6 separate regions of the Homo sapiens genome follow, and regions 1, 2, 3, 5 and 6 are each linked to region 4. Evidence: promoter capture Hi-C in human tissues and cell types (Jung and others, 2019). All regions are on one chromosome and are shown on one strand. Each heading gives the region's core, a stretch centred on a gene start or on the middle of the fragment in contact. The rest is flanking DNA. Distances are from core to core; before and after follow the strand shown.

Region 1 (4,519 bases), core at 15-2,514, 630 kb before region 4:
GTGTTTATTTTTCAGAATCAAGTTTAGGGCTTTATCTGAATAAACTACAGAAGCAAGACTAAGAGGCTACCTTCAACTTGATTGTGCTTTCTTTGTACAGAAAGTAAAACCCAAGAGAGCCAGAGAAAGCCACTCAGCTAACTCAAAATACAGAAGTGCAACATGTTTAACTATTGCCTTAAATTATAGGGAATTTGCATGAAAAAGAATAGTAGTCTACAGGGTAGATGAAGAAAGAAAAGGCAACTTTTTAAATAATGATTTGATGGAGGTTGTAAAAAGATGGTTACTAATGGGAAGGAGAGGTACCCTGACAGAGATAAATAACATAAAACTGAGTTGGTATACAACAATTGAAACAATCTTAAAAAGAATGAAAACAGCATGACCATCAGAATCCTTTGTCTACATGGCTTGTCTGAAGTTTGCAATAAAATATTCATAATTGAAAAAAAAAGCAGTTATACAAAAACAGTTTGTTGACACAACCTAAGGATGCACAAATGAAAAAGAGAAAAGAACAAGGAGAGTTGAGTGGAGGCCTCCCACAAAGCAGGGCAGATAGAGAAACGACTCTGCAGTTTCTCATACTGTATCACACCTACTCATTGCCTCTCCATTTTTATATCCACTTCCTGTAACAAGAAGCCCCTTGGTTATTAAAAATTCACTGGACAAATGTTTGAATTTTAAACAGTTGAGCACTAGAGGGCGAAAACTCTCCACATTTTCAATATTGATCAGGCCTACAGAAAAAAGATTTCACAGCAAAATAAATTATGAGATTAATATATTTTTAAAACTCACTGGAATAAGTAATAAAGTAACTTTTCAAATCCTGAGAACTATGAAAAAGAACTATAGAATATGGGACAATAGGAAAAATAAGGGTTCCTAAATCAGGAAGGGTACCTAAATAAGGTACCCAAAATAAGGGTACCTAAATCAGCTCAACGATTTAGGTATCTAGATCTTGGTTTATCCTTTCCACTAATTTAATCCAGTGAAATTAAGCATGGTCAAGTCACCTACTTTGGGTCTCAGTTTCCTCATCTGAAAATAAAGTGTTCAATCTGGGGAGAATTTGAAAAGTCATTTTCCAGCTCTAAAATTCTAAAATAATCTGATAACTTAAGCCTTTAGGGCCTTTCAGGAAAAAAATAAGAGTGAAAACCAGAGCATGCTTTATTTTCATACGACTTTGAACACTCCACACTTGTCCAATTCATTATTTCTACATGCCCTCATTTTTTCATGCAGCATATTTTCATTTTCAAAGAAGAAAGGTTTCCAATACCAGTGAGACCAGCAGGACACAAAATTCTTCAATTCTTCTGATTGGTTGAAAGGTGTGCTTTCATCCAATCAGAAAGATGTGCTTGGTTTACATGCATAACATCCCTGATTTTAGGTTAAATATATTTGTTGAAGGCAGGGAGCAAGGTAACCCAGTGTTCTCACCCTAATTTCAACCATTAAATAATATAAATTGGGCTTCTCAGTAAAAGCTTAATCAGTGGGAAGGTGGCTACTATGGTCTGGATTTCTGTCCTTCCCCCGGACCCCCCAACACACACAAACCTCACGTTGAAATTTGATCCCAATGTTCGAAGCTGGGCCAAATGGAAGGTGTTTGGGTCATGGGGGTATATCCCTCATTAACTGATTAACGACCTCCCTTAGGGATGAGTTCCCAAGAAAGCAGGTTGGTGAGAAGAGCCTAGCACCCCCCTTCCCATGTGATCTGCACATGCTGGCTGCTCCCCTTCCCCTTACACCATGAGTGGAAGCAGCATGAGGCCCCTGAGGCCCTCACCAGATGCAGATGCCAGTGCCATGCTTCTTGTACAGCCTGCAGAACCCTGAGCCAAATTTAAAGGTCTTTTCTTTATAAAATGACCCAGCCTCAGGTATTCCTTTATAGCAACACAAAATGGACTAAGTAAGTGTGGCTACTCTGATGTGGCAACTAATGCAAGGTTTAGGAGGCTTCTTCTCTTGTCCTCCTCCTCTGTAAAATTAAGAAGTGATTTTCTCAAAGCCATTTGAAAATACACATCTCAGTCATTTCTTCTTTGCAACACAAAAAAATGCAACACATTTAAAAACCAATAGCATTAGAGTTCCTACAAAAACTTCTATCGTTTGAGGCATGGGAAAGAGTTTAAAAAGCAGTGACAACTTTCTTTATGTATTCTCTGTAATGCAGAGAGCACAAAATATGATGACAGGTTAGATTTGACCTGAAAAACTCTGGTACTCAGTAAGCCAAGTCTGGGGGTAAACTCAAAAGTCCCGGCAGGAATGGCAGTACACCAAGAGATGAAACAGACTGATGCACAGTAGATGCTTAAAACAGATTTTGTTGAATAAATAATAATCGGGATAATTACAATATGGACTGATATTACTATTATCAGGCATTATGCTAAACATTTTACATACATTATCTCATAGAACCATATATTACAGGCATAATTATCATACCCATTTTATACATGAGATAACCGAGGCTGAGGGAAGAAGGTTATTGGATCAAAATTACATAGCTATTAAGAAAGAGCGCCAGGATTTGCATCCTTTTTCTTAACCACTACTCTGTATCTTATACAAACATAACATGAACACCCATCCCTTGTCTGTTCTTGTCTTTCCTCTTAAGAACAATAAAATTAGTACACAAATGGCTGAGCCCAGGAAGTGGGCATTAAAACAACTTCTAGAGTTTGTCAGTTAAACCACATAATCTTAAGTTTATTATTTAAGATACAGTTTTTGTTTCCTTGTAAAATGGAAAATTACTTGTCATTGTGAAGGAAGAAGGGGATGCTGAGCACTATGCAAGAGACCTATGTCAGACATGGTGCTTTCACATATATTATCCATTCAACCCTCAAAATATCCCTGTGAAGCATTACCCTCATTTTACAGAGGAGTTTCAGTGAGATTAAGTAACTTGTCCAAAGTAACGCTGATAGTAAGTACCAGAGGACCTCTAGTCTAATTTTAAAGTATTACATTTACTTAAGTGAGGATTTCCATGTGGTTACTGAAAAAATCTTGATAACATCATAATTTCAAATCGAATTGTATCATACTACTTTGTAATGCCATTTTTTACTCTTCACTATCACTTGAATTCCTCAGGTGAATAACCTGTGTAGTTTACTCAATGAGGGAACTTAGTAGATATTACATTAGTCTTTAAAATACTTATTAATGTGCAGGCCAGGCATGGTGGCTCACATCTATAATCCCAGTGTGTTGGGAGGCTGAGGCAACAGGATCTCTTGAAACCAGGAGTTTGAGACCCGCCTGGGGAACACAGTGAGACTCTATCTCTATAAAAAAATTTAGAAGTTAGCTGGGCATGATGGCATGCGCCTGTAACCCTAGCTACTGAGGCTGAGAAAGATCTCTCCAGCTCAGGTGACTGAGGTTATAGTGAGCTATGATCACACTGCTGCACTCCAGCCTGAGTGAGAGTGAGATTCTGTCTCTAAAAATAAAATAAATATGCTGGGCACGGTGGCTCACACCTGTAATCCCAGCACTTTGGGAGGCCGAGGCAGGCAGATCACTTAAGGCCAGGAGTTCAAGACCAGCCTGGCCAACATGGTGAAATCCCGTCTCTATTAAAAGGACAAAAATTAGCCAGGTGTGGTGATGCATGCCTGTAATCCCAGCTACTCGGGAGGCTGAGGCAGGAGAATTGCTTGAACCCGCGAGGCAGAGGTTGCAGTGAGCCGAAATCGTGCCACTGCACTCCAGCCTGGGTGATAGAGCGAGACTACATCTCAAAAAAATAAATAAAATAAAATACATCTTAGTGTGCAATAGTTCACTAATATTTAAGAATATTTTATAATTATTTCTGCCTAGGAGTATGGAATCTGAGAATATTCTGCTTGTCTACTCTCTAGAATGTTGATTTTCAAACATGTTTTTTTCAATCACCTAGGAGTCTTTTCTTCAAATAGAATCTTCCATGGAAGCCCAATATATGAAACATAAAAAAGGGAGGCTTTTTTGAAGTGGATAAGCCTAGGGCTCTGCCTGCTTGGTCTCCCCACTGTTCCTTAGGCTTCTCTGACAAATACTCTCCCCCTTGGGCTAGTTCCTCACAGGTAAGGTCTTCTGCCTTGATTAGAGCATTTAACAATATTTGTGCAGGTTGTTTATCCTGAGTAAATTGCAAGACTAATGGTAAACCAAGTATATTTTCACTGAATAAGACAGAAGCTCTTCCTTGAAGACTTCTGTGCAGAACTATGTGCAGTGAACAGAAGTCTACTCCATTTTTAGTGAGGCACTCTTCCCCACCGCTGACCCAGCCTGATGTCCTCTTCAGGACTATCATATATAGGGTCATACATAAGTAAATACCAAATTCATTACTAAACTCATTAAAATGCTATCCTCTTTTTACAATAATTCAAGTACTCACACTGCTCAGAAACTAAACATTTGGAAACAGTGTAAAGAATTAAGAACCTATGCATAGTCTATAGGATTCTTT
Region 2 (4,549 bases), core at 1,805-4,304, 870 kb after region 4:
AGCACTCCAGCCTGGGTGACAGAGAGAGGCCCTGCCTCAAAAATAAAAAATAATAAAGAAAAAAAACCAGGTTTTCAAAGCTTTATAGACCAGAACTCAACATACAAAATGCAGGGTTCCACAAGTCTGTTTGTAAGTAGGTTATTCAAAATGTAGAAAATAAATCTTCCCCCAAAACAATCTACTTTCTGGGGTGATGAAAATATTTGGAACTCATGGTTACATGGAAATACATATTTGTCAAAACTCATTAAACTTTGTACATCAATGGTGTATCTACTGTTTGTATATCTCAATAAATTTGATTTTTAAAAATGTCTTAAAAAGTGGTTAGCATATTATTCCACACACACACAAAATTAATACTTCGTTGTTGTTGGTTTTTGTTTAGAGACAGGGTCTCACTACGTTGCCCAGGCTAGACTCCAACTCCTGGGCTCCCCGCTCAGACTCTTGAGTAGCTGGTAGTAATTGCTCTAGGGATTAAAGGTGCACACCACCATGCCCAACTTATAAAAATTTAACACGTATTTATAGCAAAACACTGCTACCATTTGAAGTATGGCTAATCACCATTTATAACAGTGTTTCTATGGGAAAATGAATTGAGAATTTTAAGCAGGTAATGGCATGTATCCATCTTTTCCCTATTCCAAAGCATTTTCAAGAAAGAACTAGGGATGATATTTCTGGATACTTTGATTTGTTAATTCCCTAACAGCACCAGAAAGAGTATTTCTCTGTATCAATCATCCCTCAAGTGTTCTAAATTGAAGGAAAAGGTAGATGTCTACAAGGCTCTGAATGTGTTCCTGTTCATATGTACAAATCATTCAAAAATTGAACATTTCTGTTATGAAATGATAAACCAAATGAACCATTAATCTATAAACGTGAATAAAACCCAGTTAAAGGCAAAAACAGTCATAATATTTTCTTTTTAGTTTATACAACACTACTCTGAACGCTATGATAGGCAGCTATAATTATTTCTCCTCAAAACATTTTAAAAACATACATAAGAAAACAACATATAAAGACTAAATGACTAAAGTCACAAGTATAATAGTCAAGATTAAAGTACTTCTGATTCCCAATGTAGTATGTTTTTCCTAGTACACTATTTTCCTATTCATAGTGAGAATCACTTCTCATTTTTATATGACACATTTGGTACATATTTAACAATCAGTAAGGCCAATTTTATGTTAAACTAAGAACTGAACCAATTTATGAATATCAAGGGATGAGTTGTATTTTGGCTGTTGTGTTAAAAAAAAAACTCACTGATTTTCTTTCACAGTCACATAAATTTGAAAGTGATGGACTTCTTTAAATAATCTTAACGTTACAAATTGTTGTGATCATATATAATAAAGCTTTTATTTCTTCCTTTTTTCTATTATCATGGCCATAACATCATGGATACTATATACCTATTTAAATACAAATTTACAGGAAAATTTAAGCACAGTATAAGTAACTTCTTCCCTTAATCTTTGAGAGTAAGCTGCTGAGCTGATGACCCATCATCACCCCTGAATACTTTTATACTTCCTACAAAGACATTCTCCTACAGAAATACAATCATCTGGGAATTAACATTGATACATTATTACTGGAAATCAACACACTAATACATTACTACTACATACTCCTCAAACCACATTCAAGTTTTGTCGATTAACCTAATAATGTTATGCCAAAAGGATCTAGTTCTTAACTAAGCACTGCATTTGGTTGTCAAGTCTTCTTACTTCACTTTAGACAAGTTTCTTCTCCATTTTTACTTTATTTTCTTAACCTTAATACTTTCTAGATTACAGAATAAGTATTTTGTAGAATATCATTTAATATGTGTTTGGTATTTCCTTGAGATTATATAGGTCATACATTTTTGCAGGAATATTACAGAATTGATGTTGCATTCTCATTGTAACCTATTAGAGGAACACAATGTTGACTTGTCCCGTTACAGATGATGTTCATTTTGATAACTTGATTAAAACGGCATTTGCCAGGCTTTTCCACTATAAAGTTACTCTTTTCCCTTTTGTCATTAATATGCATTTTGTGGGAAGGTCCTTAATAACTATGTAAGATCCTGCTTCTCAGATGACTTTCAGTTGATTGATATCTGTGTACACTCATGGTTTCTTATTTTACTCAATGGGCTAATCTGTTACTAACATTTGATGCTCAAATTGTCCTAGATTTGCCTGTGGAAATCCCTTCAAATTGACTTCTGTGTGTGTATTTTGTTGTAACATGTCTCATCATTCTTAGAGCAATTCTTGGTTTTCTAGCACAAGATACTTTTGGGCTTATCGCCTAATAATGTCCTTGCCCTAAACCTGGGGCTGGCCATTTCTCTGAGTCCTGATTCTTTTAGTGGAGAATGGTATTTAGAAGTCAAAATCTATACATTAGGTGTGCTCATTGCTTTTGGGGTGTGGCTGCATCCAGGTCCTCTCAATGTACAGAGGTAGGGAATATATGTATATATACACACAGACACATATACTTACATCTACATTTATTTCTGTATCTATCATTGAAAACCAATGATATACAGCAAATCTCCAATTCTATTCCAACACTATGGGGTTCATTTTAGTTTTCTTCACTTCTGTATTTGTAAATCTCTTCTCTCAATAAGAAACTTTATTATCTTTGGCCGGGTGCAGTGGCTTATGTCTGTAATCCCAGCACTTTGGGAGGCCGAGGCGGGCAGATCACGAGGTCAGGAGATCAAGACCATCCTGGCTAACACAGTGAAACCCCATCTCTACTAAAAAAATACAAAAAAATAGCCGGGCATGGTGGCGGGTGCCTGTAGTCCCAGCTACTCGGGAGGCTGAGGCAGGAGAATGGTGTGAACCTGGGAGGCGGAGCTTGCAGTGAGCCAGGATCGCGCCACTGCACTCCAGCCTGGGTGACAGAGCGAGACTCCGTCTCAAAAAAAAAAACAAAAAAAAAACCCAAAAACTTTATTATCTTTAATATACTTATTTGATCAATCTCCCCCATATGTAACATTCTCCCATCTTCACCACCACCCCTCTCCCACACAGATGACTTCTTCACCTTAATGTGGTTTTGACAACCCCCTCCAGACCAAATCCTGCCCCACCATGCTGGCACCTCTCTCATCTATATGAAATTCTGACATCTCATTTGCTTCCCTTGCTATCCCCATGAGGACACTCTCCTCACCCTGCTCAGACTCTGACACTGCATGTTGTGCTCACCTTTGTATGAATGCTCTTCTCATCCTGTTTAGGTTCTGACACCCTGTAGCAGTCTGCCCCTGAACATGGATACCCTCTTTAAACTGCCTGTCCTCTGATTCTCCATGTTAGACCATGCCTCTCCAGGAATACTCTCCTTACCTGGCTTGGGCTCTGACATTCCAGCTAGGCTGTTCCTCTCTCTCCACCCTATTTAGGTTTTGAAACCCCTCTCTGGACTACCATCCTACTACCTCCTCTCTCTCCAGCATGAATACCTGCCTTGCTCTGTCCTACCTAATGATATTAGGACTGAAGGGAAAGGTTTCATACATAAATTTAAAATTACAGAACTAATTAATTTAAGCTACGAACTCATTCGCAATTGTAGAAATATTCAGGTAAAACATTTATTATACTTTCACACCTACTTTCAGCATGTGATAACCCATATCAGACAAAAAGGAGAGGTGAAAATCACAGACGTTCAAGTTGGAGGTGCACAGGCTGGCAAAAAATTCCTGGTTTTGTAAGTGGACAGGGAGGGTTAGGACTTGATTGCTACAATAAAACTTATGATTACAATTACCTTGTAGTAAAATTCTACAAGGTAATTGTAAGAGGTGCATTCTATAATTTCTAGCAGGCTACCAAAACTTTCATTTAAGTGGTCAACGATGAAAATGAAATTAATTTCAATTTCATTAAAAGCTGTACATAGAAACTATAACTCATAACATTTATAACAGTCACACAAAATAAGTTAGGGCATTGTAGATGTACTGTTACTTACTTTATCTACACAATCATCAAAAAATGCCAGGCTTGCATCTTTGTCACTAACAAAAGAACATTCTTCAATGAAGCGAATAAACATTTGTGTTTTGGTCATCATGTTATAGAATTTTTGATGTGACCGGTCCCGGCTTCTTAAGAAAGCTGTTCAACAAAAATATATAATGTCAGAATACATAATATCATTCATAGATTCACAGAATATTTGCACTAGAAAGAATCTGAACAACCATGTCATCTATACCTCCCACACCACTACCATTTCGCAAGTGCTGAGAGGGAAAATGACCTGACAAAGAAATAGGAGAATAGTAATAAAGGAACATAAACCCAGATCTCTCAAATCTTCATCCAGAACTGTCTCCACTGTTCTCTCACCATCTTAAAGATTATAAACTAGTATATTTGAAAATTGCTCTCTTTTCCCCTAAAAGCTTTGCATATTATGTGCACATACTTGCTCTCACACTCTCTCCATATAAATATATATATCATATATATATAAATGGCTTTCTCAAAGCAGC
Region 3 (4,754 bases), core at 1,750-4,249, 590 kb before region 4:
GGGGAGGAATGCTGTGCCTCTAAGTTAAAAACAAGCTCTGGTGTTCATGCTCACATTTACAAGGACACATGGTGAAATCTTGTCTATTTTCTTGTCAATTGATCTTCTTTCAAAATAAATTTCCTTTTTTTAACCATCACAAGGAATATTTTTATTAATAACATTGGTAAAAATCTAAAAAGGCAAGCTTATTAAATCTTTCTAACTTCTTTCTGCCACTGAACTACTTGCTGACTGCTATGTGACAGAATGACATCACACCAGGCCTTAAGATACGCTTGAGATACAAGGGTAAAGAAGACACAAGGCTTGTTTTCAAGGAGCTTATAATCTTATGGCAGGGAGTGGGGAGAGTGGGACCAATATGCAATTACAATAAAAAAATAGTCAATGCCTAATCATCAATAGGATAATATAATCAGGATTTTAAAAATATCCCAATGTTCTTCCTCATCTGGACTCTGGAAAAAATAAAATAAAAAATATGGCCAGGCACGGCGGCTCACATCTGTAATCCCAGCACTTAGAGAGGGCGAGGCAGGCAGATCACGAGGTCAGGAGATCAAGACCATCCTGGCCAACATGGTGAAACCCCGTCTCTACTAAAAAAATACAAAAAATTGGCCAGGCGTGGTGGCTCACGCCTGTAATCCCAGCACTTTGGGAGGCCGAGGCAGGCGGATCACGAGGTCAGGAGATCGAGACCATCCTGGCTAACATGGTGAAACCCCGTCTCTATTAAAATTACAAAAAAAAACTAGCTGGGCATGGTGGCGGGCGCCTGTAGGCCCAGCTACTCGGGAGGCTGAGGAGGAGAATGGCGTGAACCCGGGAAGCGGAAGTTGCAGTGAGCCGAGATAGTGCCACTGCACTCCAGCCTGGTGACATAGCAAGACTCCATCTAAATTTTAAAAATAATAAATATATAAATAAATGGCAAACTTGGGCCTAATATGAAGAACTTCAAATACACTGGACTTTCCCACATTAAATTAGCCTGAAGAGTGGTGAACTCTATGATTAGAACTAAGTAGTCAAGCCGATTTAGATGACTGTAAGAAAATCCTAAAAGTAATTCTTACACTAGCGGGTAGGGGTAGCAAGGGGATTTGAAACAGAAAACTAAAGCACTTCCTATCTTGGAAAAGTCTGCAGCTACCTTGTTAGTTGCAGGCAAGGGTATTAAGATGATGCCCACCGCAGCTATTTTAGAAGTAGTGGGTGATCTCAAGAAGCAGAAAAGAGGCCAGTAGTCACCACTGAACTGCATATAGGACCTAGAAGGCTTTGTGACCTTTACATGTTTGTTAGAAAAGGTACTGGGAGACAGACCAACGATGGCCAGCCTACCTGACTATGAGTCAACAGTTGGCCTAACCAGTACAACAGAGCCCTCCTATTCCCACTCATGACAATGATGGATATACCAGTCTCAGAGATTCCAGTTTTTCCTTGCTGCTTAAGTGAAAAGCAATTTGTATAGTCACCTTTCCTCTAATGCCCTCCCTGTTTACTCCTCGCTTTCAGTGCACAGAGAATGCTGAAACTTCAAGAGCTTGCAATTTTCTGTATTTGGGAAGAGTACCAACCCAGCAGCACAGATGTTATTCCTACCTAACAAATACATTAGATTTTTTTTGGCTCTATATTGAAAAGGGAAGATTGGTCTGATTTGGTGGATCTATTTGAAAGGGCTTACAGAGGAAATCCTGAAAACTGGCCTGTCCACTTCCCCACTTAAACTTCTAAGCTGGACTGGATTAAGCATGTTGTTACCTGACCCTTGGATTTATGAGACATATACAAACATGCTTATCATAAATGGGCTGTGACAGTCTTTTCCCTAAAACTTATGAAACCTAGAATAACTTAACAACATTATAAAACCAGGAATGTAAGAGGAACAACAATTAAAATGTAGTCCTGGGGCATGTGGGAAGATAAGCCTCAAGTTATGTATACACCCTGTGAACTCAGTTGCCAGTCTTAAATCTTATGCCAAAAACACTCCAATCAATTAACAAATATATACTGAGAGGCTACTGTGAGCAAGAATTCATATTAAGTTCAATGAAAGACAAGTCCATTGTGGGCTCCCTGGGTTATAACTATAGCTGATTATTGCTATAGTCAGGGTATAATAAAACTTGAATAACACACAATGACTCATATAATTCTAAATATTTTAGGATGCAGAACTCAAATTCCTTCAGTAGTACCTTCATAGGGTTACTTGAAATAGAACAAACAGTATGATGGCTCATGCCTGTAATCCCAGCATTTTGGGAGGCTGAAGGCAGGAGGATCACTTGAGCCCAGGAGTTCAAGACCAGCCTGGGCAACATGGCAAAACCCCATCTCTACTAAAAATACAGAAAATTAGCCTGGTGTGGTGGTGCATGCCTACAGTACCAGCTACTCAGGAGGCTGAGGCAGGAGAACTGCTTGAGCCTAGAAGGCCCAGGCTGCAGTGAGCCGTGATCGTGCCACTGCACTCCAGTCTGGGTGATGGGAGTGAGACCCTGTCTCCAAAACAAGAAAGAAAGAAAGAAAAAAAAAATAGAAACCAAGCTTTAGTCATTCATATAAAACCTGTCACAGTGAAGGGGGCATAAAGCAGAGGAAATTCTACTAATGTCAAATAGTGAAAATAGCTCTGAAAGATTTCATCTTCTGAGAGACTTGTCCCTACAGGTAAACATTAGCAAAACATTTTTCTGGAAGCCAGTAAGATATTTGAGAAATTAGAGCTTTTTGGTAAAAACAAACATTTTTTACAGTGATTAACTTAATTTTTAAAAATTGCCGAAGGTCATAGGTTATTACAATCATATGGATAGCTCTTGCAAATTAATGAGGACAATGGATAAAATGACGGTTCTGTAATATTTCAGAATGTATATTTTAGTATGTCTTCAAAACAGATAAACCATCTCAGTATGGTAAAGTATATTTTGCAAATTACCAACATTTCCTCCTTTCTTTTGGTATAAGTAAAGAAAAGAGAATGAACTGCTGAAAAGCAAATCCTTCACACTATGAGTATTTGACAAGTGGAAGGCATCTGCAGGTTGGTCTGTGGGCATAGTCATAGCAACACAGTTCCCCTGTCAACTCAACTCCAGGAACCAGAGCGCAAGTAGCTTTGTGGTTGACTATGTTTATTTACCTATCCGGCAAGCAGGGGAGATAGATGGTTTGGTAAAAAGGGCAAACCAGACAAAAAAATTTGTATATTTTAGGGCTTCCAGCTAAGATACATACTAAGTAAGTGGAGAGAAAAGACTTGACTTACCTGCACTGCCAAGCTGTTTATAAAATCTGTACTCTAAATGAAGCTGTGGAGCACGTGATTTTATTGGTTCCTGAAATCCAAAAAGAAAAACTGTGATCAGATTTAAACAAATGGGATTTTTCCATTCTTAAATTTTTGGAGTAAACGAGGGCTAAGATCACCCAATGTTTTAGAGATAATATCCATATATAAGAGCCTTTTCTAACCACAATTGGTCTTGGACAGTATAGCTAAGAGAAGATGAAGGTGAATTACATACAAGTCCTTCCATGGATAGTTAAATAAAAATAGACTTTGCATGAGCTATCATTCAAGGATATCTTTCTTGCAATGAAATATTCTCCTGGAATGTATTCTGCCAGGAAACTTGATGCCAAACCTTTAAATAAAAAAATACCAGAATGTATTTCCTGCTTGTTTTGTTCAGAATTTTGGGTGGTTCATGGTTTTATTATTTTTAGAAAAATAATGCATGCTCAGAAGAAAATTCAAATATACAAAAATTAGGAAGAAAGTAAAAATCATCTGTGATCCTGTCACTTTAAAGAGAGGCACTATTAACATTTTAGTGAATGTCTTTCAAAGTATTTATTTATCTATATATGTATTAATATATATAATATAGACTAATGAACTTAATTTTATATAAATGAGATTATAATATATTTGCTGTTCATTAATGTGCTATTGAATTCAACAATGTAATAACATATTCCCATGGCGGTAAATAAACGTGTATAATTTCTTTTTTTTTTTAAGACAGGGTCTTGCACACTGCAGTCAAAACCTCCCAGGCTCAAGTCATCCTCCTATCTTAGCCTCCCGAGTGGCTGGGACCACAAGTGTGTGCCACCACTCACAGCTAATTTTTAATTTTTTGTAGAGATAGGATCTTACTATGCTGCCTAGGCTGGTCCCAAATTCCTGGGCTCAAGCAATCCTCCCACTTCAGCCACCCAAAGTGCTGTGGGATTATAGGCATAAGCCACTGCACCTGGCTTATATTATTTTAATGGTTTGAGTATTGCCCTGTATGTGGATATGTATTTATGTATGTATGTATACACACCCTCCCCATAATTTTTGGACACGTGAACTGTTTTCATTTTCCAATATTATGAACAATGCTTTTAGGAACATCCTTATGTATATTTCTTTTTAAACTATTGAGAATTAAAGATTGTAAATGCAATTAAAATATGTAACTTCAATCAATGTGGTGTTCAAGTTTCCAAAAATGGAGTTTTCTAAAAACCTCAGAGATAAAGCAGCCAAACAACCATACTTTGCTCTATACCAATTGAGCAACTGGCTGGCTGATTATTCTAAACTGACAGTGTACTGGGCAACTGGCTAACAAGAAAACCAAACATTACCCTAAACACATTATAATCTCTCTTTAAAACCTCAACAGTAGCTGACATGGTGGCTCATGTCTGCCAACCCAGCACTTTCAGAG
Region 4 (4,775 bases), core at 1,884-4,383:
TCAGGGCTGGGTACCATGTCTGAGGTCTATAATCCCAGCACTTTGGGAGGCCAAGGTGGGAGGATTACTTGAGCCTGGGAGGTTGAGACTGCACTGAGCTGTGATTGCACCACTGCACTCCAACCTGAGTGACGGAGCAAGACCCATATTATTATTTTTTTAAGTGTCCTTATCAGGACTTGTCTACCTTCCTGCTGGTTTGGTTCATCAGCTCTCCAAGGCAGGACCTAGATCTTACGTGGTGTGGTCACACGATGCTGCCCAAAGGAGTCATGTGGAGTCAGGCAGGGTTTGAATCCAGTCAAGTGGCCTTAACCAGGTCATCTAACTTCTTCAAGCCTCAGGTTCCTGATCTGTTCAATGAGGATAACAATTGTATCTATTTCATGGATACTTTCGTGAGGATTAAATGAGATATAGGGAGAGTTTAGAATACTGAGTAGATAACAGGGGGCCTTACATTCTTTTCAGTGAATAATTGTAGGATGATGCCTTAGAAAGCACCCCCACTTAAGGGGCACTCAGTACACTTTGCAGAATGATTAAATGGTACACACACAAAACAGACCCCCACACCTCCCAAACCTTCAATGACTTCCCATTGCCCTGAGGTTAAAATGTGGTCTCCTCCACACAACCTACAAGGCCCTCTCTGCACAAAGCTGTCTGCTTTTCCAGACTGGCCGCCCTACATACACATGCTGTGCTGTTCATGCCTCCATGCCATTGATTACACGCTGTCCCCTCTCCCTAGAATGCCTGTCCTACCCCTTTGTCCTGGTTCTGGTGCCCCTTCTCTGTGCATTTACCTTCTCATTTAACACTCGGCATTCTCATCTTCTTACATGCCTTTCTCCCCAGTAGAGGACAGGGATCCTGAGCTCTGCCATTATCTCCCAGCCACTATTGTAGGGACTGACAGACAAAGAAAATAAAATATGTGTTGAATGAAAGCACACAGTATAGAGGCAAAACCAGAGGGTTTTTTGAGCTAGATGGGGAAACTGAGGCCAGAGTAGTTCTCAATGGCTCATTCCCCAAAATGACAGAACTATTTGGATGTCAAACCAACCTGTCCTCACTGCTCTCTCCCTACAAAGGGCTGCTTCTGTGTAACAAAATGAATTTCCCCAGGGTCTCTGGTCTGCTGCAGGTGGAGCATGAGTTTCCAGATACAAGATCTTCTGAGTCCTTGATCATTGGAGTAGAATGCTGCACAGCTCTGCAGATTGAGGGAGTAAAACCATGTGGTGGCCGAAAGAGGTTGCTACATATACAGACTATCTCAGATCCTCAGCCTCAATTTTCCTTCATCTTTCCTTCCTTCCTTTCTTTCTCTCTTTTTCTTTCCTTTCTTTCTTTCTCTTTCTTTCTCTTTTCCCTCCTTGCGTCCCTCCCTCCCTCCCTTCTCTCTCTCTCCCTTTTTTTTTTTGACAGAGTTTCACTCCTGTTGCCCAGACTGGAGTGCAATGGCGTGATCTCAGCTCACTGCAACCTCCGCCTTTCGGGCTCAAGCGATTCTCCTGCCTCAGCCGCTCAAGTAGCTGGGATTACAGGGATGCACCACCTCGCCTGGCTAATTTTCTATTTTTAGTAGAGACGGGGTTTCTCCACGTTGGTCAGGTTGGTCTGAACTCCCGACCTCAGGTGATCAGCCTGCCTCAGCCTCCCAAAGTGCTGGGATTACAGGTGTGAGCCACCGCTCCCAGCTCTTTCTTTTCTTTCCTTCCTTCCCTCCGTCCTTCCTTCCTCTCTCCTTCCTTGTTTCTTTTCTTTCTTTCCTTCCTTCATTTCTCTTTCTTTTCTTTTTCTTTCTTTCCTTTTTTCCTTCCTTCCCTCCCTCCTTCCTCTCTCTCTCCTTCCTCTCTCTTTCTTTTCTATTCTTTCTTTTTCTTGACCAGTGTGATAATATCAGCCTCAATTTTCTTCATTCCTTTAGCTAAAGGATCCCAGGCCTAGGCATGAGGGAGAAGTGTACCTGCATCTCCTTCCCCCTTGGCCTGGGAGCCCCAGGCTGCCCTTTTCCGTACAGGGCTGGAAGTAGCCTGGGAGCCTGAGGGCTGGCAGAAGGCCGTGAAAGGGGAGCTTGGTCGCTGGCACAGCCGCTGCTATGGCAGCCAGAGCCGAAGAAGGTCACCATTGATCTCACATGCACTTAATTTTCCCTTCCTTGGCATGGGACGGGGTTGACCAGGAGAGCTAAGGGGGAGTATGCGTGTGTGTGTGAGAGGGGAGCGGTGCTGCAGGCTGCGATGCAGCCAGTTACTTTCTCTCTCTGGGCCTCAGTTTCTCCAATGTAAAATGAGGGCGCATGGTATAACTAAAATCATTACTCTCTGCTGGTCCCCACACTCCCACTCTCCAGTAAGGCTGTCAGGGCTGCAAGCTCACCGCGGGATCGGGGGGATGGTCGACCCTCAGATACGGGAGGGATTGAGCGATGCCCAAGGAGAGCAGGAGAACACTGCGCTTGGAGACCCCTGAGAGCCAGGGGCGGGCCGCCCCCTAAAGGGACCCCGGAGTCCCGACTCTCAGCTCCAGCTCTTCCTGTGACACCACCCTCCGGACAGAGACCCAAGCTCCAGGCCCGGCCCCGCCCAGAGGTTCCAGGGAGAAGACCAGGCCACCGCCCACTGCCCGGCGTCGGGGAGGAAAGAGGAGGAGCCTCTGTGTGCCCACATCTCTGGCCGCCCAGGGCAGCTCGGCTCGGTCTCGCAACCCCAGCCCACTGGTTCGGGAGACCTCAAAGGCTCCACCGCCAGCGCCCCCAGCGCTCACTGTGTGCGCCCCACCCCAGCCCTGCCTGCGCGCCGCTCCCGCCACCCTCGCCTCAGTCTCTGGGCCGGAAGCCCCCTCTCCTCCCCCGCCGCAGCCCCCTCCTAGTCCCTCTCCCTCCGCCGATGCGGGAAACCTTCTCCGCCCCGTCCCGCCCTCTTCCTCCAGTTGCATCTCCGCCCGGCTCCTCCGTCCAGTCTCCAACCCAGGCCCCGCCCCTCCCCACCCATTTCCCGCCCTGGGCCGGGCCCCCGGCCCCACCGCCCCCTCCCCGGCCCCGCCCCGGCCCCCGGAAGCCTCACCCCGCCCCCGGCCCCGCCCCCCCGAAGTTTCTTGGGCCCCCGGCAGCCGGCGGGACAGAACGCGGAGAGTCGCCGCCTGGCCGGGCGTAGACGCGGTGGCAGAGCCCGCGCGGCGCTGGAAGCGAGTGGCGGAGCGGCGGGACCTCGGCGGACTCGCCATGGAGGAGGAGGTGAGGGCGGGGCCCGGCGGGGCGTTGGGCTGGGGTCCTCGAGCCCCTCACGGGGATTGCGGTCCTGGGCTCAGGCCCTCGTTCCTGCCCGCCCCACTCCCGCCAGTCTCACCTCAGGAAGAGCCTGGGCAAATGGGGCAGGGGCGAGGGGCTGGATCCATATCGGGGACTTCGCAGACCGCGTCCTCCTTCATTCTCGCTGACTTTCTCACCAGTTGTGGGGCGTCGTGGTTGTTACCGTTCCCATTGGATTGACCAGGAGACTGAGACTCCAGCGAGATTGATGACTTGCTGAAAGTGGCCTGGGTGACTGGGCTCGAACCCCGATTACCGTGGTCGGATCCTGACTCTCTCTCTCTCTCTGTGTGTGTGTGTGTGTGTGTGTGTGTGTGTGTCGGATCCTGACTGTGTGTGTGTGTGTATGTGTGTGTTGGGGGGTTCCTGTCTCAAGGATCGGATCCTGACTCTGTGTGTGTGTGTATGTGTGTGTTGGGGGGTTCCTGTCTCAAGGATGTGACCATGCTTTGGTGGCAGGAGGATTGGAGAAGTTGCTTTTTTCTCCCTTGTATAAGTCTCTGTATCTTTTCCCCCACTCTCTCCCCGCTCCACATCCATCTGAGCAGCTAGCTGTAGGGAAGGAATCGGGAGTCCGGCCCACCTAGGGTCTGATCTTAGTCCCTGCCTTCCCCACCCGAGGGCTGGACCAACTGTGTCCCTGGAGCCTCCTTCTAACCACTCAAAACACTCTTGGCCTGGGATTGGGTCTTGCCCCTGCCCCTGCCCTTTACTTGCAAACTCAGTTCTGCCAGCAGCCGCTTTATCCGAGGGTCCAGCACGCAGCAAGCACTTAATATATGCCTGTGGAATGATTAAGTTAAAATGAGGGGCCTGTTGGGTCTAGAGGAAGGTGAATTTGTTTCTTATCCCCTGAGGGGGTCCCAGCTTCAGCCCCTCTCAGCCCAAGGGAAGGGGCATGTCTTTGCCTCCTTGGATGGGGAGGAAAGATGAAGTTCTCTGCCTTGGGGGAACCCTGGCCAGCTGGGAAGCCCTGAGTGGACCGGACTGCCTGTGTCCCTTCAGTGCCCACCTCCCACTTTTCCAGGGCCATGGATAGGAGCAGCTAGTGGTCCGTCAGGGCTCCCTCTAGGCCAGGCCCTGCCTTTCTGTGGGATGGTAGATAAGTCACTTCCCCTCTCAGCCTTCATTTCCTCTTCTACAAAATATAGTGCCTGTCCTCCTCATACTCCTGGCCTGACAGTGGCCGGTTCTCTCAGTGGGTGAAGGTAGGGGGCAAAGTCAGGCCTCTGTGATTTGCTGCGGTTTCTTTCTGGCTGTTAGGTGGGGCTGCCATCTGCCTGCCCCAGGCCCCTGCTGCAAGGGCTGGGCTCTCTGGCCAGGGCCCCTCCCCTGCTCCCAGAGGATGTGGGTCAGGATTACTCCATCTCCTGATCTGCGCTGGCCCCTGATTAAGGGAAGTTCTCCGGACACCTCCTGGGCCCGGCTCAGCTCTGTACACCCTTGGTCCTGA
Region 5 (4,724 bases), core at 1,934-4,433, 610 kb before region 4:
CAGTTCTGCTGGGCAAGCCACAAGTATGAATACTCCAAGTAAATTCAGAGTTGCAATATTTCTACATTGACTTCTGTGTATTTTAAATCTTCCATGATGATTGTAAATGATATCTACAGTTTATCTTGCTGTTCCCATATGTAGGTAAACAACTATGCAGAATTACTTATTTCAGTTAACAGCACTGAAAACTACACACAAACAAATGTCTTCTCCTCTCTCAAAACAGCACCTGCCCATCCAAACAGATTAAATGACCAAAAAAATGAGACATCTAAATCATCTAATATGAAAGGAAGTCCAGTAACTTCTTCCTACCCTTATCTTCTCCCTCTCAATTTATAAACAAATTCTTTATTTTGGTCCCATTTAACTTGGAAATACACGGTCTTTTCTTCACCTAAGTAGTCTTTTCCTACCACACTTGAATCTCATGGTCATCCTGTAAGGAAAAACAGGGGAAGTACTAAAGACCCCATTTTACAGATGAAATAAAAACCCTGAGAAATATTGTGTGAAATCTCCTAGGTTCCCAAATAATACAACCAAATCTCTCAATTCCAGATTCACTGTTCTCTTCTCTACACTAAGCTGCCTACATTCTCTTACTCTCAATGTTCTTTTTCATCTGTGTTGTTGCCAAAATTATTCTCCATGCTCCCCAACCCAACTCTTCCAAACCCTATGTCCTGCCCTTTTGGTTAACATTTTCTTTTTCCACCAATTCTTTATCACCTTTCCAGTACATAAATCCCCCACTATGCTCCACAGGCAGCTTGATTTGTCCTACTCACCCTTTTGGCTTCCCTTATTTTTAATTTTTAAGAAATTTTCTTGCCCTCTCCCCCATTATTTTAAAATCAGCTCCACAAACACTATCTTTTCACCTTTCCTGTCCACCTCTCTGTGGTTCTCAAGCCTTGTCAATTCCAGTCCCTGGTCTTGAACAGGAACCACCTGGGGCATTACTTTTTTAAATTATAAAAGTGATAAACAGACAGATATAGCATGGATATCTATATTACCCATTTTTAGACAACCAAACATAACAGCAAACCAAAAGCAGTAAAAAGCATATAAAGAAAAGGTATTCACACCCGGGCACGGTGGCTCACGCCTGTAATCCCAGCACTGTGAGAGGCCGAGGCAGGTGGATCACGAGGTCAGGAGCTCCAGACCATCCTGGTGAAACCCCGTCTCACTAAAATACAAAGAATTAGCTGGGCGTGGTGGCGCACGCCTGTATTCCCAGCTACTGGGGAGGCTGAGGCAGGGGAATCACTTGAACCCCAGAGGCGGAGGTTGCAGTGAGCCAAGATCATGCCACTGTACTCCAGCCTGGCAACACAGCAAGACTCCGTCTCAAAAAAAGAAAAGAAAAAGAAAAAGTATTCACAACCACAAAGGCACATGATTAAGAACAGTGTACTGCAACTTCATTTTTAATTTAATACTATAGCATGGGCCAGACATGGTGGCTCACGCCCATAATCCGAACAGTCTGGGAGGCCAAGGCAGGTGGATTGCTTGTGCTCAGAAGTTCAACACCAGCCTGGGCAACATGGTGAAACCCCTGTCTCTACCACAACTACAAAAAATTAGCCAGGTGTGGTGGTGTGTGTTTGTGGTCCCAGCTACTTGGGAGGCTGAGACAAGAGGATCACTTGAGCTTCAGAGGCAGCAGTTGGCAGTAAGCTGAGATCATACCGCTGTACACCAGCCTGGGCGACAGAGTGAGACTCTGTCTCAAAAAAAAAAAAAAAAAAAAGAAAAAGAAAAATACTACAGAGTGGATATTTTTTCTTATCAACATATAGACCTACCTTATTCATTTTAATAGCTACATATTAATAGTAGTATAATAGTATTCCACCATGTAACATATCTGTTTAACTTTCCCCCTACTGATGGGCATTCATGCTGTTTCCATGTGTTAATTAGAAATATATATTATAGTGAACACCTATTGCTTTTGCCTGGTCTGCATCCTTTTGTTCCTTCTGATAACACCACCTTATTCTTACAGTGGAAAGTACCATTTCCCCAGTGTTACTTCATGTGGTTAAAGTGGGGGCAACCCATCTCCCACTGACATCCCGAGGATGCCACAAGCCCAATTACTCAGAATACTCTATCTGCCTGCCTGGGAAAACTGGCTCAGGAATGGGTGCCATGTCTCTCATGTAACAAGAGTCAACTCTAGGACTTTTGTGGAACTATAGAGAAGGAGGAGTATTCTCTCTCTTTCTCTCTCTCTTTCTCTCTCTCTCTCTCTCTCTCTCCCTGATCGCTAAACTGAAAGCAGCTCAGCCTGGAGTTGCCAGGGACCACCACATGGAGAAAGCCTATTTGAGAATGAAGCTAATGCAGAGAAAGAAGAGGTGAGAAAAAAAGAGAGGCAAATGTATCACATACCTATGGACCAAGGACATTATTAGTCCTGTATCTGGATGGCTTGAAGTGAGAATGCTTTTGACTTCTCAGTTCTGTGAGCCAAGAAATTCTCCTCTCCCTCTCTCAAGTGAGCTTGAACTGGGATTCTACTCTTGGCAAATAAAAGCATCTAGACAAATAGGCATGCAATACTACAAAAAAAAATCCTTAAGCCTATATTTTTGGGCATGTTTGTAAATTTTTTTTTTTTTTTTTTTTTTTTTTTTTTTTTTTTTAAGACAGAATCTCACTCTGTCGCCCAGGCTGGAGGGCAGTGGCGCGACCTCGGCTCACTGTAACTTCCACCTCCCGGGTTCAAGGGATTCTCCTGTCTCAGCCTCTGGAGTAGCTGGGATTACAAGCATGCGCCACCGTGCCCGGCTAATTTTTATATTTTTAGTAGAGACAGGGTTTTACCATGTTGGCCAGGCAGATCACCTGACGCGCTGGGCCTCCCAAAGTGCTTGGATTATAGGCGTGAGCCACCATGCCCTGCCCGGTAAACATATCTTGAATGTTAATTCCTTAAACAGGAAATGCTGAGTCAAATGCTTGCATAGTTAATATTTTAGTATATAGTGCCAAATTGCCAGTTTTGGTTTTTTTTTTTTAAGTCAGGGTCTCACTCTATCACCCAGGCTATAGTGCAGTGGCACAAACCATGGCTCACTGCAGCCTTGACTTCCCAGGCTCAAGCAATATTCCCACCTCAGCCTCCCGAGTGGCTGGGACTTACAGACGTGTGACACCACGCCTGGCTAATTTTTAATTTTTTGTTGAGACAGGGTCCCACTAGGTTGCCCAGGTTGGTCCTGAAGTCCTGGGCTCGAGCAGTTCTCCCACCTCATCCTTCCCAAACTGCCAGAGTTCTAAATCTTCTTTGGTCCCTATTCTGACTCTAGGCTTGGGCCTATTTTCAACATTTAGCACGACAGTCCCCATTACTTGAGTACTCAGGTCTGTGAGGGTATTTAAAAATAAAATGGCAGCCGGGTGCAGTGGCTCACGCCTGTAATCCCACCACTTTGGGAGGCCAAGGTGGGTGGATCACTAGGTCAGAAGATTGAGACCATCCTGGCTAACACGGTGAAACCCCGTCTCTACTAAAAAATACAAAAAAATTAGCCAGGCGTGGTGGTGGGTGACTGTAGTCCCAACTACTCAGGAGGCTGAGGCAGGAGAATGGCATGAACCCAGGAGGCAGAGGTTGCAGTGAGCCGAGATTGTGCCACTGCACTCCAGCCTGGGTGACAGAGCGAGAATCCGTCTCAAAAAAATAAATAAATAAATAATAAAATAAAATAAAATTGCAGGTTATATTCCTTTTAGAACATTAATTAAGCCTGGGCATGGTGGCTCACACCTGTAATCTCAGCACTTTGGGAGGCTGAGGCAGGAGGATTGCTTGAGGCCAAAAGTTCGAGACTAGCCTGGGCAACATAGGGAGACCCCATGTTTACAAAAAATAAAAAAATTAGTTGAGCGTGTGATGTATGCCTGTGGTCCCAGCTACTCAGGAAGCTGGGGTAGGAGAATCTCTTGAGCCCAGGAGGTTGAGGCTGCAGTGAGCTGTGATGACACCACTGCACTTCAGCCTAGGTGACAGAGCAAAACCTCATCTCCAAATATATATATATTATATATATATTTATATTTTATATTTATATAAACATATATATATTTGGAGATGAGGTCTTGCTCATATATGTATATGTATATATATATTAGGATATATATATATATACACACACACATATACATATATATATTAGGTGCTGTGCCTATCTTGTTCACTACTGTATCCCTAAGACTTAGCTTAGAATAGTACTTAACCCAAGTGGGATGCTCAAGAATATCTCTTTAATAAATGCATGAACAGAGACATAGCAGCCTCTGGGACTTGGTTTATTTTTTGTACTTGGAAAGCTTTCCTTACTCTTCCATTTTTATATGTTCAAATAAATCATAGTCGTTTTTTAAAGCTCAGCCCCATACATGCCACTCTCTCTATAAAACCTTTTCTCTTTCTCAAAATTAGAAACCATTTTTTCTTTCAGAACTTCCTCATTTTATATGCATTTTAAAAATATATATAACATTCTACTGTTTTAGCTTGTGTTACAGTTACTTACCATTATTGTCCTACCATTAACCTCACTGTCCTAACATGAACATACTGTAAGCTCAGTAAATATTACATTTTCCTTCCAATGACACTCTAGTGTACTGAAGGGCAGAGATCATCTTATTTATAATTCTTTGGCCCTCAAATTACCCAGCATAGTGGTAGC
Region 6 (4,849 bases), core at 2,333-4,832, 540 kb before region 4:
GGTTTACATCTTCCTCATTTATAAGGTCTCTTCAAGCTGGCACATTTAGTCATCTTTGACTTCTTCCCATCAAATAATTAGTGACTAAATCCTGCCTAAAGTCTATGTCTAAAATTTCTAATTTACCCTGTCCTCTCTCCATCTCACTTCCATTTTCAGAGCTAAGACCAAAGGCCCTGCTACTTCTGACCTGGACAATTCAGCCTTTCTTGAGTACCCATTACATACCACACACAGTGAAAGGAATTAGAATATGAGGACTAAAAAGCAAAGTAATACCCTTACACCTATCTTGGGAGAGAGAAATGGAAGAATAAAGTACAACATGATAAGTATTACAATTAGAGCAAAATCTACAAGATGTCAACTTCTTTCCTATTTGATCTAATCTTACAATACAACCCGAATTCTCTTTCTGGAATATAAACTAGATTATGTCACTCTGTTGTAAAACTCCTGATGATTCGACCCCATTGCCTACAGGATAAAGTCCAAATGCTTTAATATATGCAAACACTTCACAATTTCGTCCCAACTTACCTAAAAGCTTCATTCTATTACTTTTCTTTCACTTCACATCCTATGACCCAGTCATGTATAACTAAATGCTGCTGTGATATGCTGGGCACTTGCACAGTATCTAGTGATTGTGTATCCTGCACAAGCTCTTCTTCCTTATGTCTACCAGCAGAAATCCTGTCCTATCATCAAATCATACCTCCTCTTTGAAGCCTTTATTAACCTTCTCTGCCAATGTAGTTTCCATACAATCTGGTTTTTTGTTTGTTTGAGACACGGTCTCACTCTGTCGCCCAGGCTGGAGTGCAGTGATGTGATCTTGGCTCATGGTAGCATCAGGCTCCCAGGCTCAAGCCATCCTCCCATCTCAGCCTCCCAAGTAGCTAGGACTACAGGTGCATACCACCACACCCAGCTAATTTTTGTATTTTTTGTAGAGACGAGGTTTTGCCACGTTGCTCATGTTGGTATTGAAATCCTAAGCTCAAGTCATCTGCCTGCCTTGGCCTCCCAAAGTGCTGGGATTACAGGCATAAGCCACTACACCCAGCCCCCAATCTGCTATATTATCACTTTGTATTGCAATTTGTTTTTCTCTGTCTACCACTAGACTGTGGTATTTGTAGAGACAAAAACTATATCTTCTTATTTCTATCCTTCCCAGAGTCTAGTATCAGTAAATATTCAAGAAATAGTTGTTAAATGTATGATGAAGGCTGGGTGCAGTGGCTCACGCCTGTAATCCTAGCACTTTGGGAGGCTGACGTGGGCAGATCACCTGAGGTCAGGAGTTCGAGACCAGCCTGGCCAACATGGTGAAACCCTGCCTCAACTAAAAATAAAAAATTAGCCGGGCATGGAGGCACACGCCTGTAATCCCAGCTACTTGGGAGGCTGAGACAGGAGAATCACTTGAACCCGGGAGGCAGAGGTTGCAGTGAGCCGAGATTGTGCCACTGCACTCTAGCCTGGGCAAAAAGAGCAAAACTCCATCTAAAAGAAAAAAAAAAAAGAAAACTGTATAATGGGGTGGAAACATTTGCAGAGAACCAAAATGCACTATCGTTACTTTTTTTTTTTTTTTTTTTTTTTTGCTGTTTGGAACCGATAGGTCTACTATCTACCACCACCCCCACATAAACCTGGAGCCCAAAGAAAGTATGCTTTATTTTCCCCCCTCTTCCTATTCATCAGCTTTTTATCCTTCCATCTCATAAATAACAGTAAACAATACAGAAAGAATCCCTGCCCTTTAAAGGGCTTATATTCAAGTAAGGAGAGGCAATTAATAGGGAAACATACATATGGTCATTTCAGATAGTGATGAATGCAATGAATAAAATAAAGCAGTTTGACGAGACAGGATGTGCTAGAGAAGAAACGTGCTATTTTAAATGAGAATGAGGAACAAGTGATAGAATGTTTCTCTGAGAAGGTAAGACATAAGCTGAGGCCTAAAGGATGAGAAACAACCCACTACGCAAAATTTTAGGGAAATAATTCTGCAAGCAGAAGGAATTGCAAGTGTAAAGGCTCTGAAGCAGAAATGCACACGGTTGGTCAGGTGTGGCGGCTCACATCTGTAATCCCAACACTTTGGAAGGCCAAGGCAGGAGAATCGCTTGAGGCCAGGAGTTCAAGACCAGCCTGCAAAACATCATCTCTACAAAACATTTAAAAATAAAAAAATTAGCTGGGCGTGTTCTTATGCACTAGCTATTAAGGAGGCTGAAGTAGGAGGATCGCTTGAGCCTGGGAGTTGGAGGCTGCGTGAGCTATGATCATGCCACTGCACTCCAGGGCGGGTAACAGAGCAAGACCCTGTCTCTCAAAAAAAAAAAAAGAATAAGAAGAAATGCACTTGGCTGTTTGACAGACTGTGTGTCTAGGAAAGGAAATTAGTTTAGAGAAGCAGAGCTTTGTAGGTGGTAGCCATGATGTAGGCTGACTGCACCTGCCTTGACTTTGGAATTTTGTAGTTTACAATCTTCTCCTCGCTAATATTAGAACAAGAAAATGACGGAATGGGGTATGCAGCCCACTCTATTGTCAGGAAGATGCCAGATAATTCTGAAAGTATCTTTTCTAGATACAAGGCCATAACAGTATGGTCCCAGGGCTAATGAAAACTTGATAAGCAGAGAAGAGTAAAAGCACATGAAAAGAAAGACAAGTTCTTCTGACTACAGGCAAGTCCAAATGAGAAACATCAAAATTATCTCAGATTCAAAGAGGAAACAAAACACAATACTACTCTGAAAATATATATGGGCTATAAATGTATGCTTTTAACTGAATGAATTTTTCCCTTCCCACGTAAACTTATAATACAAATCTAGACTTCAGTGATTAAACAGATTTCCACTTTTAATTCACCAAGGTTTTTCTTCACTTTCACAGAAATGAAACAATTGTCTGATGTTTTGAGAATTCAAAGATTTAGATGCTTTAGAAACTGCCTCTTAGCAATCATTTTATGGATGTTTATGTCATAATTATTTAATCCATCCAAGTAGTACTGTGATGTTACAGTCAATTTATGACATAAAGAAATATTCACAGAACTATTCGTTAAAGCAACTCTGTGATTGCTAGAAAGTAAAGCAGTAATTACACATCTTACTCGTATTGTAAGTAGCATCTGCTGGCTTTGGTAACCCGAACACAATTCTAAATATAAAGATCCTTTCATTATCCTAATTAAGTCCTGAATTTCCAGGTTGTCAGCCTTCTAACAGTAAAAATAAATCCATTCTCATCATTCTTAAATTCAAATGGTCTCTGGCTAGTATAGTGATGTTTCTCCAAGGCTCTCTATGGGGGATCAGAGATAAGATTTTGTCCATGTTCTCTATGCAGGACCATCACAAGTAGCAGAGGTGGTCAGGCGTAGTGGCTCAGCCTGTAATCCCAGCACTTTGGGAGGCCGAGGCGGGTGGATCACTTGAGGCCAGGAGGTCAAGACCAGCCTGGCCAATATGGCAAGAGCCCGTCTCCACAAAAATACAAAAAAAAAAAAAATAAGCTGGGCATGGTGGCACATGCCTGTAAGTCCCAGCTACTCTGGAGGATGAGGCACAAGAATCACTTGAACCTGGGAAGAGGAGGTTGCAGTGAGCTGAGATCGCACCACTGCACTCCAGCCTGGGTGACAGAGCAACACTCCATCTCAAAAAGAAAAAGAAGTAGCAGAGGTAACAAACATAATTACATTATGTTCCCACCCTCCCACCACTCCCCCCAAAGGGCCAAAGTTTCTTACAATGAGTCTTCACATTAATCCACAGTCTCAAGAGCTATGAAGGAAAAGAAAACACTTTAGCCTAAAAGATGACCTTTCCACATTCTCCAGGCTAATTTCCAACTTCATATATTTATACGGCCTTTTATTTTCTCTATCCCACTCATCAAGGGAGAGCCATTAAAAAGTATATAAATGGCCGGGCGCGGTGGCTCACGCCTGTAATCCCAGCACTTTGGGAGGCCGAGGCGGGCGGATCACGAAGTCAGAGGATCAAGACCATCCTGGCTAACATGGTGAAACCCTGTCTCTACTAAAAATACAAAAACAAAATTAGCCGGGCGTGGTGGCGGATGCCTGTAGTCCCAGCTACTTGGGAGGTTGAGGCAGGAGAATGGCATGAACCCGGGAGGCAGAGCTTGCAGTGAGCCGAGATCGCGCCACTGCACTCCAGCCTGGGCGACAGAGTAAGACTCCATCTCAAAAAAAAAAAAATTTTATATATATATATAAATACCCAATGTACCTTCTTCCCAATCTCACATTTTTAGACAGATTAATTTTGTCATTATTTTCCATCTCACCCATAAATTCATAATTGAAATAGAAAATCCATTGCCTTAGTTGGGAAATAAAATTGCCTAACTTCTCCTTGGAGTTCTAACTTAATTCTAATGCTGGAAACTCCAGGAAGAAACGCAAACAAATTATCTTTTGGAAAATTTCTCCAAACAGGATGTACTGTATATCCTTGCAGACTAAGCCTGGGTATTACTGAGTAAGGATTTACTCTTTTCTTTTCAGGGGCAGAGTCTGAATTAAACCAAGGCCTTATGTCCTTCTTAAAAGACCAACAGCATCTGCATCACCTGGAATTTGTAAAAATATGCAGAATTTGGGGCTCCACCTCAGACATCCTAAATCAGAGTCTGCATTTTACTGATATCTGTATGCAACTCTATGTTCATCAGAAAATCTCAGAACTGGTAGAAAACTTAAAAGCCCATCGCACACACATAAAGAGAGATGAGCCTTGGATAACAAATAATTGATAATGACTATAGTGCCCCTTCACAAATTATTTCTTAA

What was found. The method cuts DNA at HindIII sites, captures the fragments that hold promoters and counts their contacts. A contact is called where the count stands out against the background at its distance.
Region 1: a fragment that was not itself captured here is called in contact with the fragment with the promoter of PLEKHO2 in region 4 in 2 of the 25 tissues and cell types used here (liver and pancreas).
Region 2: a fragment that was not itself captured here is called in contact with the fragment with the promoter of PLEKHO2 in region 4 in 1 of the 25 tissues and cell types used here (adrenal gland).
Region 3: a contact is called between a fragment that was not itself captured here and the fragment with the promoter of PLEKHO2 in region 4, in 1 of the 25 tissues and cell types used here (heart right ventricle).
Region 5: a fragment that was not itself captured here is called in contact with the fragment with the promoter of PLEKHO2 in region 4 in 1 of the 25 tissues and cell types used here (sigmoid colon).
Region 6: a contact is called between a fragment that was not itself captured here and the fragment with the promoter of PLEKHO2 in region 4, in 4 of the 25 tissues and cell types used here (IMR-90 fibroblasts, bladder, dorsolateral prefrontal cortex and 1 more).

The regions. Positions count from the first base shown.
Region 1 is chr15:64,209,207-64,213,725 of GRCh38, forward strand. All of the region lies in intron 6 of CSNK1G1 (casein kinase 1 gamma 1), which reads right to left. Among named protein-coding and RNA genes, the nearest start is that of PPIB, 48 kb to the left of the region's middle. The HindIII fragment of the contact is 4,963 bases long and covers 1-3,746 here.
Region 2 is chr15:65,711,455-65,716,003 of GRCh38, forward strand. DENND4A (DENN domain containing 4A) reads right to left here. Exons shown (of 33, transcript NM_001320835.1): 14 at 4,024-4,169. Among named protein-coding and RNA genes, the nearest start is that of MIR4511, 5.6 kb to the right of the region's middle. The HindIII fragment of the contact is 4,650 bases long and covers 730-4,549 here.
Region 3 is chr15:64,248,217-64,252,970 of GRCh38, forward strand. It overlaps CSNK1G1 (casein kinase 1 gamma 1), which reads right to left. Exons shown (of 12, transcript NM_022048.5): 4 at 3,296-3,365. Among named protein-coding and RNA genes, the nearest start is that of PPIB, 88 kb to the left of the region's middle. RefSeq lists an enhancer at 1-128. The HindIII fragment of the contact is 3,241 bases long and covers 1,380-4,620 here.
Region 4 is chr15:64,838,782-64,843,556 of GRCh38, forward strand. It overlaps PLEKHO2 (pleckstrin homology domain containing O2), which reads left to right and starts at 3,134. Exons shown (of 6, transcript NM_025201.5): 1 at 3,134-3,247. The coding sequence starts at 3,236. LOC124903508 (a long non-coding RNA gene) reads right to left here and starts at 1,375. Exons shown (of 4, transcript XR_007064682.1): 1 at 1,073-1,375; 2 at 810-915; 3 at 239-353. RefSeq lists silencers at 2,657-2,976, 2,987-3,426 and enhancers at 3,234-3,757, 3,790-4,341. The HindIII fragment of the contact is 9,878 bases long and covers 1-4,775 here.
Region 5 is chr15:64,227,271-64,231,994 of GRCh38, forward strand. The region is part of intron 4 of CSNK1G1 (casein kinase 1 gamma 1); the gene reads right to left. Among named protein-coding and RNA genes, the nearest start is that of PPIB, 67 kb to the left of the region's middle. The HindIII fragment of the contact is 8,680 bases long and covers 1-4,724 here.
Region 6 is chr15:64,295,350-64,300,198 of GRCh38, forward strand. All of the region lies in intron 2 of CSNK1G1 (casein kinase 1 gamma 1), which reads right to left. Among named protein-coding and RNA genes, the nearest start is that of CSNK1G1, 58 kb to the right of the region's middle. The HindIII fragment of the contact is 7,582 bases long and covers 1-4,849 here.